Linked DNA regions of Homo sapiens: region 1 is linked to region 2. The links are contacts of gene promoters, found by promoter capture Hi-C in human tissues and cell types (Jung and others, 2019). All regions are on one chromosome and are shown on one strand. The core of a region is centred on a gene start or on the middle of the fragment in contact, and the rest is flanking DNA. Distances in the headings are between cores, read along the strand shown. Region 1 holds the start of PIAS4 (protein inhibitor of activated STAT 4). Region 2 holds the start of PIP5K1C (phosphatidylinositol-4-phosphate 5-kinase type 1 gamma).

Region 1 (7,721 bases), core at 4,929-7,428, 310 kb before region 2:
GGGGGAGATGGCGAGGCGTGTCCGAGGTTGGGTTATAAAAAGGGCTCCAGCTCCCAGCTTGGAGGTGCACACTCGCTACCCTAGGGTGAGGGAGCCACCAGGCTGAGGACGCCCAGGCAATCCGTGCAGGAGTCCGCACCATGAGGACCTGGGGACTGTGGCCAAGAGCTGGCGAGGAGCTGAGGCCTGCCAGCCACCACACAAGGATGTGCCTGCTCCAGCCCTGGTCGAGCCTCCAGATGAGGTGGCTCCAGCCTGACTGAGCCTCATGAGAGCCCCCAAGCCCCAATGCCCCGCAACACAGCTCACAGGTTCCTGAGAGCTAACAGACGCCCCCTGCTTCCAGTGGCTCCATTTCGGGGTAACTTGTAACACAGCAAGGGGTGACCAATATCAAAGATGGTCCCTTTGCTTCCGAGGAAGGACACCCCTGGCCACTGTGGCTCCCCGCCCTGGCTGCGCCACAGAGAACATCACTCGAAGTCGGCTGTGTGGCTGGGCTGGGCTGGGCGACGGGGCCTAGGTGAAGCCTCCAGTCGCAGCCTCCCCAGGGTGACCACTCACCTAATTCGGTGGGCTTCAGCAGCTCATCCAGCATATTAAAGAACGGCAGCTTCACCAGGCGGACTTCTGGCTTGAGGGTCTTGGCGGGCAACCGTCCCAGTCCGTTTAAGTACTTTCCGTAGAGCACGGGGTAGTCAATATTGGGGCCTGCCAGCGGAGTCCTGGGCACAGCGCCGGCCCGGTCGTAGGTGGAGTGCATGGTCAGGGGGTCCAGGGGCCGGTGCGGCTGTGGGGCAGGCTCCGAGTTCTTCTTGGCGTAGCGGGTCTCGTACAGCTCCTTGATCTTCTTGAACAGCTCAGGGCTACAGTCAAACTGCACCAGCTGGAGGGCCCTGGTGACGAGCTCGTGCTTCAGTCCACTCTTACTCCGGCCCACGAAACCCAGGAGCATCTGAAGGTCGGAGACTCGAAAACTCATCACCATGTTCTGAGGAGGAGCAAGCACACACACACTCAGAGGACACAGCTGCGAGGCAGGGGACTCCATGGAGGCCAGGCCCCGATGTGGGGGCCGTGAAAGACACCCACTCGCCAGGAAGCGCCAGCCTTGGCTGGGGCTGGTGGAGTGCCCTGCCCCTACGGTGCCCCCTCCCAGCAAAGCCCTGCCCCCTCCCTCCTCCTCATCAAACTTTCCCCAGCATCGCCAACGCAGCAAAAGCGCCTCTGACTAGGCCCCCCCTTCTATTTTAGGTTCTCTTTCCCTGTCTTCAGCCTGAAAGCATCCCCAGGGCAGGAACTGACAATTGTGCTTTACTTGTAAACAGCCTCTGCCAGTGCCTTACCGGCAAACACCAAATGCCTCTCTGACCCTCAGTCTCTACGTCGGGAGGATAATGACATAAAGCACTGGCTGGGCGGGCGCTCAACCCATGTCAGCCACAGATATGTTTTCCCTTCGGTCTCGCCAACGGTAGCCACAGTTTACTTAGTACTAATCACCTGCCGGGAACCAAGCCGGTCATGTGATTATATATTTAACTCTGATCCTTAAAACACCCCTGCTAGGCTGGTGTGTGAGCTCTGTCACAAATGAGGAACTGTCGGCTCAGAGGTGGCAGCGCCAAGATTCGAACCCAGGCCTGGCTCTGAAGCCAGGGGCGGTTCTTGCTGCCACACTACCCTCTGGATGTCAACACAGGGCTGGGCCTGTGGGGGCCTCCGAAACATCTGCTGATCATCCCAGGCAGGGTTTCTCCTCCTTGGCCCTGTGGACACTGGGGCCATCCTGGGCTCTGTGTGGTGCTAAATACCCACAGCTCACGACAACCAAACACACCTCCACACCCCACACACCTCCACACCCCACACACCTCCACACCCCACACACCTCCACACCCCACACACCTCCACACCCCACACACCTCCACACCCCACACACCTCCACACCCCACACACCTCCACACCCCACACACCTCCACACCCCACACACCTCCACACCCCACACACCTCCACACCCCCCACACCTCCACACCCCACAGCTCCACACCAAACACACCTCCACACCCCACACACCTCCACACCCCACACACCTCCACACCCCACACACCTCCACACCCCACACACCTCCACACCCCACACACCTCCACACCCCACACACCTCCACACCCCACACACCTCCACACCCCACACACCTCCACACCCCACACACCTCCACACCCCACACACCTCCACACCCCCCACACCTCCACACCAAACACACCTCCACACCAAACACACCTCCACACGTTGCCCTGAGTCCCTGGGGGACCGGTCCAAGGGGAAGATAGCAGCCACAGGGGCTGTTGCAGGACCTGGGTCAAAGCGACAAATGAGGCTTGGCAGGACCTGGCCCTCATCGCCTGGCCGGGCCTCTCCAGCGAAATAAAAACCAAACAGCAGAGCCCAGCTGACCCTGGTGTTTGAGGTGGGGTAGACTGGCAGTGGCCTGACCTCCATGAGGGGTAGGACCCTGAAGGGGAAGGAAGGCTCCTCAACAGGCTGCAGAAGCCAGGTGTCCTCGAGGGATGGGCTGGCAGGGTTTCAGGGCCACCCACCCTTAGCCCTGAAGCTGGCCTGGGATGAATGAGATGTGGTGGGAAACAGTAGCTTCCAGGAGGAATGGGGAGAAAGCTCAAGCGTCAAGGGTGTTAAGGAAAGCTGGCGGGTACCCGAAGAAACCAATAAACCATTCAAACTCCACTCGAAAGACCCTGAGGGTCGAAGCCAGAGGCAGTCCCAGTGGGGTATGTAAACTGCAGCCTCCGTGCCAGGAGGCGCTGAGGTTTCCGGCTCCTGGCTGCCCCAGGGTGAGACCAGGAGCCTAGCCGCACATTTCAGCACCAAAGCTGCAGCAGCCGGGGCCCACTGTCGGGTCCTCATCTGTCAGCTCTGATTTCTTCCAGCTGTATCGGGCCAGGGTCCTGTTGGAGACGGAGAGGCTGTCCAGGCTCAAAATGACAGGGACACACGTGCAGGCGGCCCAGCCCTGCCCAAAGAGCCTCGGGAGAAGCCTCTTCCCATATCAGGGCTGCGGGGCCCCGTGACTGTAAAGAATCGGGATGCCAGCGTCTTGCTCCCTACCAGGCACCAGCAAGGCCTGTGTCGCTAATTTCACAATGAGGACACCCATCGTGTAGGTGAGGAAACCGAGGCTCACAGAGGGAAGAGGCTGGCCCAGAGCCTCCCTAGTACATGCGTGGGACTGGCATCGGCCCCTCGGCCTCTGGCCTCCCAAGGGTGTTCCCGTCTGCTGCCCGGGGGACCCTCACTCACCAGCACACTGGCTATGGGGACCTGCATGGTCTGCTGGGCCTGAGAGTCAGGGATGCTTTGAAAACAAAAATGCCTCATCTCCCTTGGCCTGACTTCCTACCTTGTGCAGAAAACAAAAAGGCTTGCAGACAAGATGTTTCTTCTGGAAGTGGCCCAAAGCCTTAGCAGGGAGAGACGATGTCATGTGGACACTTCACACTGGCAGACTGGCCGAAGGCAGGTGGGCTGGGGAACCTGCTGACATCCTCGCACCCCGGGAGCCCCTGCCCCACCCAGGCTGGACAGTGGAGCCGCAGCTCCCGCTTCCCGGAGCACACCCCTTAGGTGGCCATATGTTCACGACTCAGATTTCCCAGCAGCTGCCACCTCGGAGGAGCCTGCCCTTGACACTGGAGGGAGTGCGGGGGGGACAAGCATTCAGGAAGAAGCCCCAAATGCCCCAAGATCACTTCCTGCCCTGGCTTCAAGCTGACCTGCTTGCCGTCAGAGCTGTGTTTATAAACAGTGCCAGGCCCCGGCAGCTTCCAGAGTTTCAACTCCAGGCTTGCCTGGAAGTCGCATGGGGAGACATCAGCCGAGACACAGCAGCTGCGCTGAACCTTTCCTCCAGCATAGGCCCCTCAGAGCACCGGGGGTAGCTCAGGAAGGCGCCTCTCTCCAGGAAAGCGGAGATCTGTGCGAAACGCTGTGGACTATTTCAGGGAGCTCACAGACACCCCTGCCCCAAACCCGCCTGCAGGCCTCAAGCTGAGAGTCTCAGATTTCAAAGTTCACCAACAAACCCCCAACATTCGCCCCTCCGAGCAGTCTGTGATGCACCCCAAAAGACAGAATCTGCAGCCATGAATATGACAGGCTGGGGAAGGCCCCTGTAAAGAAGGGGATGTTTCAATGACATTTAAGGTACTTGGAGAGGTAGCAACAGACTCAAGGAGAAAGAAGGTTCCCCAGGGTCCAGGCCCCCTTGAATGGAGGCTCACGGTTTAGAGAACCTGAAAGAAGGGTCAACTTGATTTAATTGGGGTGGGGGGGGGCCCAGCCACCAGAGGGTTAAGGAAAGTTCATCAGATCATATTTCAAGGCCTGGATGGTACAAAAGAGTGCAGACCCTGCCCTCAGCCAGGGTGGGGGTTGGGGTCCAGGGTCACAGCTCCAAGCCCCGAAACGGGAGGTTACATTTCAGGACTCCAGGACACTTCAAGCCCAGAGCCTGCCACTTTGGGTTTACAGAGTTCAGGCCTCCACATCTCCAGGGCGAGTCTCCACTTTTCAAAACTCTAGAGAGGAGCAGAAGTGTGCGCAGGGGTGTAGGGTTGGGAGGCGAAGAGAGGTATATGCTATAATCACAGAGCCCTGAGTGCTGTGTTTTCAGATCCCAGGGGGTAATGTGAGAGGACCGAGAAGAAGATACGTACAGGTCAGGACCGTGGGGAGGGAAGATGTGAAAGGGGATGGGGGAGGGAGAGGTCCCCTAACCTCCCCGGAAGCCGTGGCCTTGCGGGCACTTCTAAGGGTTTTAGACCCTCAGCTCTAGGTAGGCACCTACAAGAAGGTACATCCCCTGGAATGGGGATACTCTGAGCTCAATCCCAGGATGATTAAAAGTGGTTCCAAGCTAGGAGATGGTATCTATGGGACATGGGACCTGGACAGGACCCAAAGTATAATAGAGCAGCAGCAACAGTTGTTCTAAAGAGGCCAGCCTTGGACCCAGTGGGGACCCTCCAGAGATCAACAAAAGAGAATAGGCAGAAAGAGAGGGGACCTTAGAAACCAAAGTTGGGGTGCATAAAAGTTCTGGGGGCTGTGTAGGGGGAGGGTGGGTGTCTGACCTAAGAAGTAGACTCGCTCAAGAGCAGAAAATAGGAGAAGCAGCCAAGGTTTGAGGACAGTATCTGATGCTGCACAGGTGAGGTTTAGAGCCCCCTGAAGCAGAATCAGTAGCCTCAGATTCTGTCCCGAGAGGAACGAGGTAGGACCAAAGCACAGTCCAGGATTTAAGATTAAAAAAAGGAGAATAAAGAAGGTCTGTGACCAAGAAGAGTGGTCCGAACTCCATCCTATGGGGAGGGAAAGGGAGGGCCCAGCCTTCCCCCAAGCGCCCACTCCGGCGTGTGAGAGACGGTGTCGGGAAGGGGGCGGGGTTCTGGGACCAATGCAGGAGCTGAAGAGGGGCTCAAGACCGAGCCTGAACTCCAGACCCCAAGAGGACGTGCCGTGTCTTGGGGGTGGTCTCAGGGCCCTGACTCCTCCACCTGGACGGTGGCAGGACACTATCCAGGACTCGGGGGACCCTTCCGAGCAGGAGACTCGCAAACCCCAGCCTGGCCTGTTGGGCGGGGACGAGACCCAGATAGCAGTCCTGGGAGCCCTGTGGGCGGGGAGGCGCAGACACTCCCCCCAACACACCAGCCAAAAAGCAAGGACCCCGGCTCGGAACCAAGAGGGCAACGAGTAGCTCAACACGTCCCGCATCCCGGCGGGACGGTGCCTCAACCGGGAGGCGCGGCCCTGGCCTGGCGCTCAGGGACCGGGACCCTAAGGGCTCGGGCTGGGTGGGGGGACCCTGCCTGAAGCCGGGGGAGCGACCCCCGGCGCGAAGACCTGGGTGAGGCAGGAGGGCCCCGCCCCCGGCCTCCCCGCCCCCCGCCCTCACCCTGAGACCGGGGGTCGGGGTCTGGGGGCCGGGACGGCGAGCCGCGGGCCGGCCGCGCTGTGGGGCCCCGGACAGAAGGCGCAGACCTCGACCTGCGGCCCGGCCCCCGCCCTCTCGCCCACTTGCCCCGGCCGGCGCCGCCACCGCTCACTCACTTTGGCCTCCACCAGCTCCGCCGCCATCTTGGTCACCAGCGTCCCCCGCGCCGGGAGCCCCCAGCCGTCGCGTCACGTGACCGCTCACCACTCGCGGGCGGGGCCGCCGCCCGGGCCAATTAGCACCCGCGCGCGCTCCTCCCGCCGCCGGTGCGCGCTGCTGCCTCCTGCGCAGGCGCGCGCGGCCACCGCCCGGGCCTCCGGCCAATCAGGTCCGTCCTACACCAGCGCCCCCCCCCCCGCTCGCGGCGACCACGCCTACCCCGGCGGCGCCTGACTCCTTAAAGTGGTACTAGCCCTGCGCAGGTGGGGACGGGTGCTCGGTTTCCTCTAGGGAGGGAAGGCGAGAGGGGGCGGTGGCAGCGACAACAATGCAGCTAGGTGCCGTGGCTTCCTGCGCGCGGCGGCCGCCAGGTGCGTCTCCAGACTCCCGGCGGCGTCGGGCAGGGGATGGTTGCTCCGCCGCAACGGCCGCCAGTGCGTACAGTGAGGCGCCTTGCAGCGCAGCGCGGTGCAGGCTCCACGGGCCCAGACACCCCGCGCGCTGCACATCCGGGTCCTGGTGTGCAGATGGGGCGTGGGCTCGGCAACCAGCTGGCTGGGGGCGCCCGGCGGAGAAAAGCGGGACCCCTGCTCCCAAATTCCTTGGAGATCGTACAGCCCTCACCTCTTTGCAGGCGCCCCCCCCATCCTGCCTCCCCACCCATGGGAAACCTTGGATCTGCACCAGTTGGGACCTCTTCTCCAAAGCGCTCCTTGGCTTTGGAGCTAAGTGGCTTCGTGCCCGTAGAAGTGGATTTCAAACTTCAATAATCAAGTATTTTAGTGCAATTTATTTTTTATTTTTATTTTTGTAGAGACGAGGATCTCATTATGTTATCCAGGGTGGTCTCGAATGTCTGGGCTTAAATGATCCTTCTGTCTGGGCCTCCCACAGTGCTGGGATTACAGGCGCGAGTCACCACACCTGGCTAGTCCAACACTTTAAACATAAAAAAATCAGTGCAAAAGAGTCCATGATGGATGAAATACCAAATTGTTATTTATTTATTTATTTTCGAGACGGAGTTTTACTCTTGTTGCCCAGGCTGGAGTGCAATGGCGCGATCTCAGCTCACTGCAACCTCCATCTCCCGGGTTCAAGGGATTCTCCTGCCTCAGCCTCCCAAGTAGGTGGGATTACAGGCGACTGCCACCACGCCCAGCTAATTTTTTTTTTGGCCAGGCTTTTCTGCAACCCCTGACCTCAAGTGATCTGCCCGCTTCAACCTCCCAAAGTACTAGGATTACAGGCATGAGCCATCATGCCCAGCCTTTTTTTTTTTTTTTTTTGAGAGCCTTGCTGTGTTGCCCAGGCTGGAGTGCAATGGAGCGATCTCCACTCACTGCAACCTCTGCCTCCTGGGTTCAAGCGATTCCCCTGCCTCAGCCTCCCGAGTAGCTGGGATTACAGGTATGCACCACCATACCCAGCTAATTTTTTTTTTTTTAGACGGAGTCTTGCTTTGTCACCAGGCTGGAGTGCAGTGGCGCCAGGCTGGAGTGCAGTGGCGCAATTTCGGCTCAGTGCATCCTCTGCCTCCCGGGTTCAAGTG
Region 2 (7,731 bases), core at 2,663-5,162:
GCTCCCAGGGTGAGGCTGATGTGGCTGGCCCAGGGACCACACCTTGAGAGCCAGTGGTCTAAATCTTTTTTCAAAACAGATTCTGGGTGAATCAGGAGCTCTGTCCATGACCTGCGTCCAAAGAACTCTTCCTGGAGCCTTAAAATGGTCAAGGCCGCCTGCAGTGGCTGACGCCTGTAATCCTCACACTTTGGGAGGCCGAGGTGGGCAGATCACCTGACACCAGCCTGGCCAACACAGTGAAATCCCATTTCTACTGAAATTACAAAAATTAGCCAGGTATGGTAGCACACACCTGTGGTCTCAGCTACTTGGGAGGCTGAGGTGGGAGGATCGCTTGAACCTGGGAGGCAGAGGCTGCAGTAAGCCGAGATCACGCCACTGCACTCCAGCCTGGGTAACAGAGCAAGACTCATCTCAAAAAAGAAAAAACAAAAAATGGTAGTAAAATACGCACAACATACAATTCACAATTTTCACCATTTCTTTTTTTTCGAGTCTTGCTCTGTTGCCCAGGCTGGAGTGCAGTGGTGCCATGTTGGCTCACTGCAACCTCTGCCTCTCAGGTTCAAGTGATTCTCCTGCCTCAGCCTCCCGAGTAGCTGGGATTATAGGCCTGTGCCACTATGCCCAGCTAATTTTTTGGTATTTTTAGTAGAGACAGGGTTTCACCACATTGACCAGGCTGGTCTTGAACTCCTGACCTTAGGTGATCTGCCAGCCTCGGCCTCCCAAAGTGCTGGGATGACAGGCGTGAGCCACCGCACCCGGCCCATTTTCACCATTTCTTTCTTCTTCTTCTTCTTCTTTTTTTTTTTTTTTTTTTTTTGGAGACAGAGTCTTGCTCTGTCGCCCAGGCTGGAGTGCAGTGGTGCCATGTTGGCTCACTGCAACCTCTGCCTTTCGGGTTCAAGTGATTCTCCTGCCTCAGCCTCCCGAGTAGCTGGGATTACAGGCACGCGCCACCACGCCTGGCTAATTTTGTATTTTTAGTAGAGACGGGGTTTCTCCATGTTAGTCAGGCTGGTCTTGAACTCCCGACCTCAGGTAATCCGCCCACCTCGGCCTCCCAAAGTGCTGGGATTGCAGGTGTGAGCCCCCGCGCCCGGCCCATTTTCACCATGTCTAAGAGCACAGCTCCGTGGCCTTAAGCACATTCCCATGGCTGTGCAAACATCACCGCCATCATCTCCAGAATGTTCTCATCTTCTGAGACTGGAAGTCTGCCCCTGTGAAACACTCACTCCTCGTCTCCCCCCAAGCCCCTGGCACCCCCCATCCTACTTTCTGTCTCTGTGAATGTGACAACTCTAGGGACCTCCTAGGAGTGGAACCACACAGAATTTGTCTTTTTGTTTTTTTTGTTTGTTTTTTTTTTTTGCGGGGACAGACGGGGTCTTTCTCTGTTGCCCAGGCCAGAGTGCAGTGGTGCGATCATAGCTCACTGCAGCCTTGAGTTCCCGGGCTCAAGCAGTCCTCCCACCTTAGCCTACTAAGTAGCTGGCTAATTAAAAAACAATTTTTTTTGTAAAGATGAGGGGTCTCACTACACCTAGCTAATTAAAAAAATTTTTTTTGTAGAGATGAGAGGGCTCACTATGTTACCCAGGCTGGTCTAGAACTCCTGAGCTCAAGTAATCCTCCTGCCTTGGCCTCCCAAAGTGCTGGAATTACAGGCGGGAGCCTCTGTGCCCACCCCAAACATTATTTATGTGCATAGGTAATATAATCATTATGATTTACATTTATGTAAATAATATAAACGTTATTACTTAAATTAACATAAACAACATAAGCCTTATTATGTGCTTATATAAAGAACATAAATATGGCCGGGCGCAGTGGCTCACACCTGTAATCCCAGCACTTTGGGAAGCTGAGGCGGGAAGATCACGAGGTCAGGCGTTCAAGACCAGCCTGGCCAACATGGCGAAACCTCATCTCTACTAAAAATACAAAAATTAGCCGGGCGTGGTGGCACGTACCTGTAGTCCTAGTTACTTGGGAGGGTGAGGCAGGAGAATCACTTGAACCCTGGAGGCAGAGGTTGCAGTGAGCTCAGATCGCCCCCCTGCACTCCAGCCTGGGCAACAACAGCAAGACTCCATCTCAAAAAAAAAAAAGAAGGATATAAATATTGCTACTTACATTTGCATAAATATATATAATTTATTATGTATTTCTATAATTATATGTTTCTTATAATAGCAAACTGTATTATTATTGATAAAATAATATAAAGAAAACAATAACATATCTATACTTACGTAATACAAACGATGGAATATAAATATTATTTGCAATATGATAATAAACAGGTAGTTAATTGCAAATGTTATTGATATGTATTGCGTAGATCAATGTTAATAACATGTATTGTGTAGATCTATATATATATATATTTTTTTTTGATATGGAGTCTCGCTCTGTTGCCCAGGCTGGAGTGCAGTGACACGATCTCAGCTCACTGCAAGCTCTGCCTCCCAGGTTCACCCTATTCTCCTGCCTTAGCCTCCCAAGTAGCTGGGACTACAGGCGCCCGCCACCACGCCTGGCTAATTTTTTGTATTTTTAGTAGAGACGGGGTTTCACCATGTTAACCAGGATGGTCTCAATCTCCTGACCTCGTGATCCGCCCGCCTCGGCCTCCCAAAGTCTTGGGATTACAGGCATGAGCCACCGCGCCCGGCCCTGTGTAGATCAATATTATTTACATGTACTGTGTATATCACTGTTATTGGTATATTTTGTGCATATCAATGTTATTGACATGTAGTGTGTATATCAATGTTATTGACATGTAGTGTGTACATTAATGTTATTGGCATGTAGTGTGTATATCAATGTTATTGGCATGTAGTGTGTATATCCATGTTATTGGCATGTAGTGTGTATATCAATGTTATTGACATGTAGTGTGTGTATCAATGTTAGTTACATGTATTGTGTAGATCAATGTTATTGGTATTCATTGTGTATAGCAATGTGATTGGCATGTATTGCATATAGCAATGCTATTTGTATGTTTTATGTAGATCCATGTCAATGATATAGTATAGATTCATGTTATTGGCATGTATTGTGTATATCCATGTTATTGGCATGTATTGTGCATATCCGTGTTATTGGCATGTATTGTGTATATCCATGTTATTGGCATGCATTGGGTAACTCCATGTTATTGGCATGTGCTGTGTAGGTCCATGTGTGGTTTTTTTTGGGACAGAGTCTCACTCTGTGGCCCAGGCTGGAGGGCAATGGTGCGATCTCAGCTCACTGCAACCTCTCCCTCCTGGGTTCCAGCGATTCTCCTGCCTCAGCCTCCCGAGTAGCCGCGATTACAGGCATGTGCCACCACGCCCAGCTATTTTTTGTATTTTTAGTAGAGACAGGATTTCACCATGTTGGTCAGGATGGTCTTGAACTCCTGACCTCAGGTGATCCGCCCTCTTCGGCCTCCCAAAGTGCCGGGAATATAGGCGTGAGTCACCGCGCCCGGCCAGATCCATGTTATTGTCATGCGCTGTGCAGGTCCCTGTTATTGGCATGTGCTGTTTAGATCCATGTTATTGGCATGTGCTGTGTACATCCATATTATTGGCACGTGCTGTATAGATCCATATTATTGTCATGTGTTGTGTAGATCCATGTTATTGGTATGTGTTGTGCACAGCAATGTTATTGATACGTATCGTGCCTGTCAATCTTACTGACCTAATACGATGGAATGGCGAGCCTGGCTCTGTACTCCCACCCCTGGGCGCGAGGGGGCACTCGAGGCGCTCCTGGCTGCGGGTCGCAAGCAGGCCCCGCCCCCGAGCCCCGATTGGCCGCGCGCCGTCCGCGGCGTCGCACGCACGCAGGCCCCGCCCCGTCCGCCCCGCGCCGGCCCGGCGCGCCCTCCCTTGGCCGGCGGCGCTTGTTGTTCGGCGGCGGCGGTCGCAGCTCGGGTCCCCCTCGGGCGCCCCCGCCGCCGTCCGCGCGCGGCCATGGAGCTGGAGGTACCGGACGAGGCGGAGAGCGCTGAGGCGGGGGCCGTGCCCTCGGAGGCGGCGTGGGCGGCAGAGAGCGGGGCGGCGGCAGGTAACGGCCCGGCCTCCCGGGGCTGCGGCCCGCTGGGCTCGTCCGAGCGCCGAGAGTCGCGGGGCTGCGGGGCCGGGGCGGGGGCTGCACGGTCGCTGCGGGGGCGCCGCCGGTTCCAGGAGCCTGGGGCGGGGCAGTCCCCTGGAGCCGCGGGGAGGACGGGGCTGAAGCCGCGCCGGGAAGCGGGAGGCCTGCGAGGGGCTACCTCCCACCGCTCCCGGGCCGGGGGCGACTCGGCGTGGGCGCCGCTGGGGATCCCCGTTCTGCCTGACCCGCTCCCAGGGGCTGCCCGTCGTGTGAGTGGCGGCTGCTTGGGTGGAGGCGGGGGTCTCTGAGGCCGTGCGTGCCCACCTCCTGATGTCACCTCCCTTTCTGTAAGTCCCCAGACCTGAGTCCGGGTGCGCGACCTTTCCTCACCTTCCTGGGCCTCAGTTTACCTCCCTGCTAAAATGAGGGGAGGAAAAGGGTTACATCTCAAGATGCCTCCACCGCCCCGGCTGTGCACACAGGGTGCCCTGTCGCCCCCTTTTCCTCTCCCCGAGCCTTCCCCCAGGACACACTGGTGGGGCTGCGGGCTGGGCGGGGGGCACGGCTGTCTCATGCCCCCTTTAGCTGCTTCCTGGACCTCCAGCCGGGTAGGTGGCGGCAGCTGGGCCTTCCCTTCTGTGGGGACGGTGTGCAGAGCCCAGAGGAAGGGAACAGTTCCTTCTCAGTCGAGGTCACAAGCTCCCAAATCGGAAGTTTCCGGATTCACAAAATCCTCTGCTCCTCCCAGGCAGCCAGCAGCAGCGTCTCTGTAGACACCCACACGGGCATCCGTCCTCCTTCTCCCCCCAGGCCTCCCGAAGCTTCCTTGGTTGGCAGGCGGGCAAGCGGGCGGGCGGGCGATGCGTGCTGCCTGGGAGTTGGGGAGATGTCTGGAGAGAGAGAGAGTGTGGAAGTCATCAAGTCCCCCCCCCACCCCCCGCCTTGAAAGACACTCGTGGCTTCCCTCCCGGCGGCCATCTGGAACCGCTTGGTAGGTGACCCGGTTCCTTCCCCAGAGCCAGTGGCCTCGCCCCTTTCTTTGCGGGCAGCCGGTGTCCTGGCCTGGCCAGCAAGAGACATGGTGGAGGAACCCAGGCAGGGCACCAGGCCCCAGCCCGGGTTCCTTTCTTGGGCCCCCCAACTTCCGCTGTCAGCCCTCTGACCCCAGCTGGTCAGAGACAAAGTAGCCCAGGACTCGCTGACCAAAAGAAAACCACACCGCGACCATTCATCTTATCAGGGGCTCTGGGAGCACCGGGGACAGATAAAGTTGCCAGCTCCAGACTGAGCATGGTGGTGGGGTGGGAGAGCGGGGGAGTGGGGGGGTGGGGGTGGGGGGCCGGGGAGGGCTGGAAGGTCAGGGTCTGGCATCTCTGCCCATCCCTGAAATCCACAGAAATCTGACCCCAGCTGGCCATATACTGCTTCTGAATGTTTAAAATTCAGAGTTGCCTCACTCCTCCAACGCCATCCCTCCTGATGTTAGCGCTGGTGAGTTTAGGTTGTGCCTGGCTGGGCCACAGAGACGTGAGCACATAAAGGGGCCTGCTTGTTCTTCACCGAGATGGTTTCATGCCTCACTGGGGCTTCTGTGCCTTGGCAGAGGTATTTTGAGTCAGGAAATTAGGGGTGCTGAGCAACGCCCCTGGCTTCTGCCCACTCCATGCCAGGAGCACCTGCCAGTTGTGACAGCCACAAGTGACCCAGACACCGTTCAGTGTCCCCTGGGGGCAGGACGGCCCTGGTGAGAAATGCCACACGTTTATGACTCTGTGAACTGCTTGCTTTTTATCTCTGGTCATCTGGAGTCTCCCCACCCTATGTTGGTATCGGTTTGTAGAGAGGGCGAGCGCCAGGCAGTGGTTAAGGGGGAGCCCCAGAGTTGGTCCCGCCGATGTCCCCCTCCCAGCTCCGCGCTTCAGGTGCTGTGTGGCCGTCACTTCCCCGGGCTTCAGCGTCCCGTCTGTGAAGTGGGGTGATGACCGTGTGTGCTAGGGGCTGAGCCTGGGATGAGTTGGCGCTCGTGCTTGGTGATTGTCGTGCCGGTTGGCCACCCCTTTCCGGCCTCTCCACCATCGGTGCCTCCAGGCCCCTGCTGAGGCCCATGCCCGTGGTTTCTGGAGTCACCGCTCACTGTTAGAAGCGATGGCGACACCTTCCAGAAAGCTCAGCTACAGCGGGAGCCTTGTCCGACAGGGGCCGAGGGAGGCTGCCCGTTTCCCACGGCACTGCCAGCTCCCAGTGTCATCGTCCTTGGCGATTTCGGCTGATCCGATGGGAGGCAAAGCAATGTCTCGTTGGTGTTTAGAATTTGGTTCCTCTAATTGCCTGGGCTCCTGGCTCCCGAGGCGTGGCCTGAATGGCGTCTCCATGGGCCGTGGCCGTGGGGCACGTGGGGGCGGTCTCGGGAAGGCCGGGGCTTGGGATGCGGCTGTGCCCACTGTGTGGGCCGATGGCCTGTGGTGGAGTTTGGTCTGAGCTGTGGCCTGGGCGTGTCTGAGCCTCTCCCAGGCTGTCCTGTCTCTGTGATGCCCCAGAACGGTCAGCTCCATCCCTGCCCCTGCCCCACTCCCACGGCTGATCTGTCTCTGTGATGCCCTGGAAAGGTCAGCTGCATCCCTGCCCCTGCCCCACTTCCACGGCTGATCTGGCAGCAAATGATGGCAGCTTCACCTTCAGAACTGGCCCAGAACCCACTGACTCCTTCCCTGTCCTCTGCCTCTCCCGGGTCCAGCTTGGTCCTCCCGGGTCCAGCTTGGTCCTCCCTGGTCCAGCTCGGTCCTCCCCGGTCCAGCTCGGTCCTCCTCGGTCCAGCTCGGTCCTCCTCCGTACAGCTCGGTCCTCCTCCGTCTGGCTGAGTACTCCCCGGTCCAGCTCAGTCCTCCTCCGTCTGGCTCAGTCCTCCTCTGTCTGGCTCGGTCCTCCCCGGTCCAGCTCGGTCCTCCTCCGTCCGGCCCAGTCCTCCTCCATCCGGCTCGGTCCTCTATCCGGCTTGGTCCTCCTCCATCTGGCTCGGTCCTCCCGGGTCCAGCTCGGTCCTCCCCGGTCCAGCTTAGTCCTCCTCCATCCGGCTCAGTCCTCCCCAGTCCAGCTTGGTCCTCCTCTGTCCGGCTCGGTTCTCCTTCGTCCGGCTCAGTCCTCCTTCGTCTGGCTCGGTCCTCCTTGGTCCTCCTCGGTCCAGCTCGGTCCTCCTTGGTCCAGCTCGGTCCTCCCCGGTCCAGCTCAGTCCTCCTTTGTCCAGCTCGGTCCTCCTCGGTCCAGCTCGATCCTCCTCCGTCCAGCTCAGTCCTCCTCGGTCCAGCTCAGTCCTCCTTTGCCCCCTGAGCCAGGCCTGGCGCCCCTGCTCTTCCTCTGCTCCCTGTCCCACATTCCAGGAGGACCCCATTAAAAACCAGCGGCCCGAGTCCCGACCCTCCTCTGCTCGCAGCCCTCCATGGCTCCCACCTCCCTTGGGGTCAAAGACATAGTCCTCTTTGAAGCCCATCAGGCCCTGCACAGCCTGCCCCGGGCCCTCCCTGCCCTCCCTGCCCTCCCCTCCGCACTCTGCCCTCCCTGCCCTCCCGTCTGCACTCTGCTGTAGGCCCATGGGCCCCTTGCTGTTCCTCCAGCATGCAGGGCATG

What was found. The method cuts DNA at HindIII sites, captures the fragments that hold promoters and counts their contacts. A contact is called where the count stands out against the background at its distance.
Region 1: a contact is called between the fragment with the promoter of PIAS4 here and the fragment with the promoter of PIP5K1C in region 2, in 1 of the 25 tissues and cell types used here (lymphoblastoid cells).

Annotation. Positions count from the first base shown.
Region 1 is chr19:4,006,193-4,013,913 of GRCh38, reverse strand. PIAS4 (protein inhibitor of activated STAT 4) reads right to left here and starts at 6,178. Exons shown (of 11, transcript NM_015897.4): 1 at 6,127-6,178; 2 at 565-991. The coding sequence starts at 6,153. RefSeq lists silencers at 6,025-6,084, 6,115-6,414 and enhancers at 5,370-6,260, 6,615-6,744, 6,261-7,152. The HindIII fragment of the contact is 22,791 bases long and covers 1-7,721 here.
Region 2 is chr19:3,696,649-3,704,379 of GRCh38, reverse strand. It overlaps PIP5K1C (phosphatidylinositol-4-phosphate 5-kinase type 1 gamma), which reads left to right and starts at 3,912. Exons shown (of 18, transcript NM_012398.3): 1 at 3,912-4,083. The coding sequence starts at 3,990. RefSeq lists silencers at 3,664-4,153, 4,234-4,373 and an enhancer at 4,072-4,855. The HindIII fragment of the contact is 9,003 bases long and covers 675-7,731 here.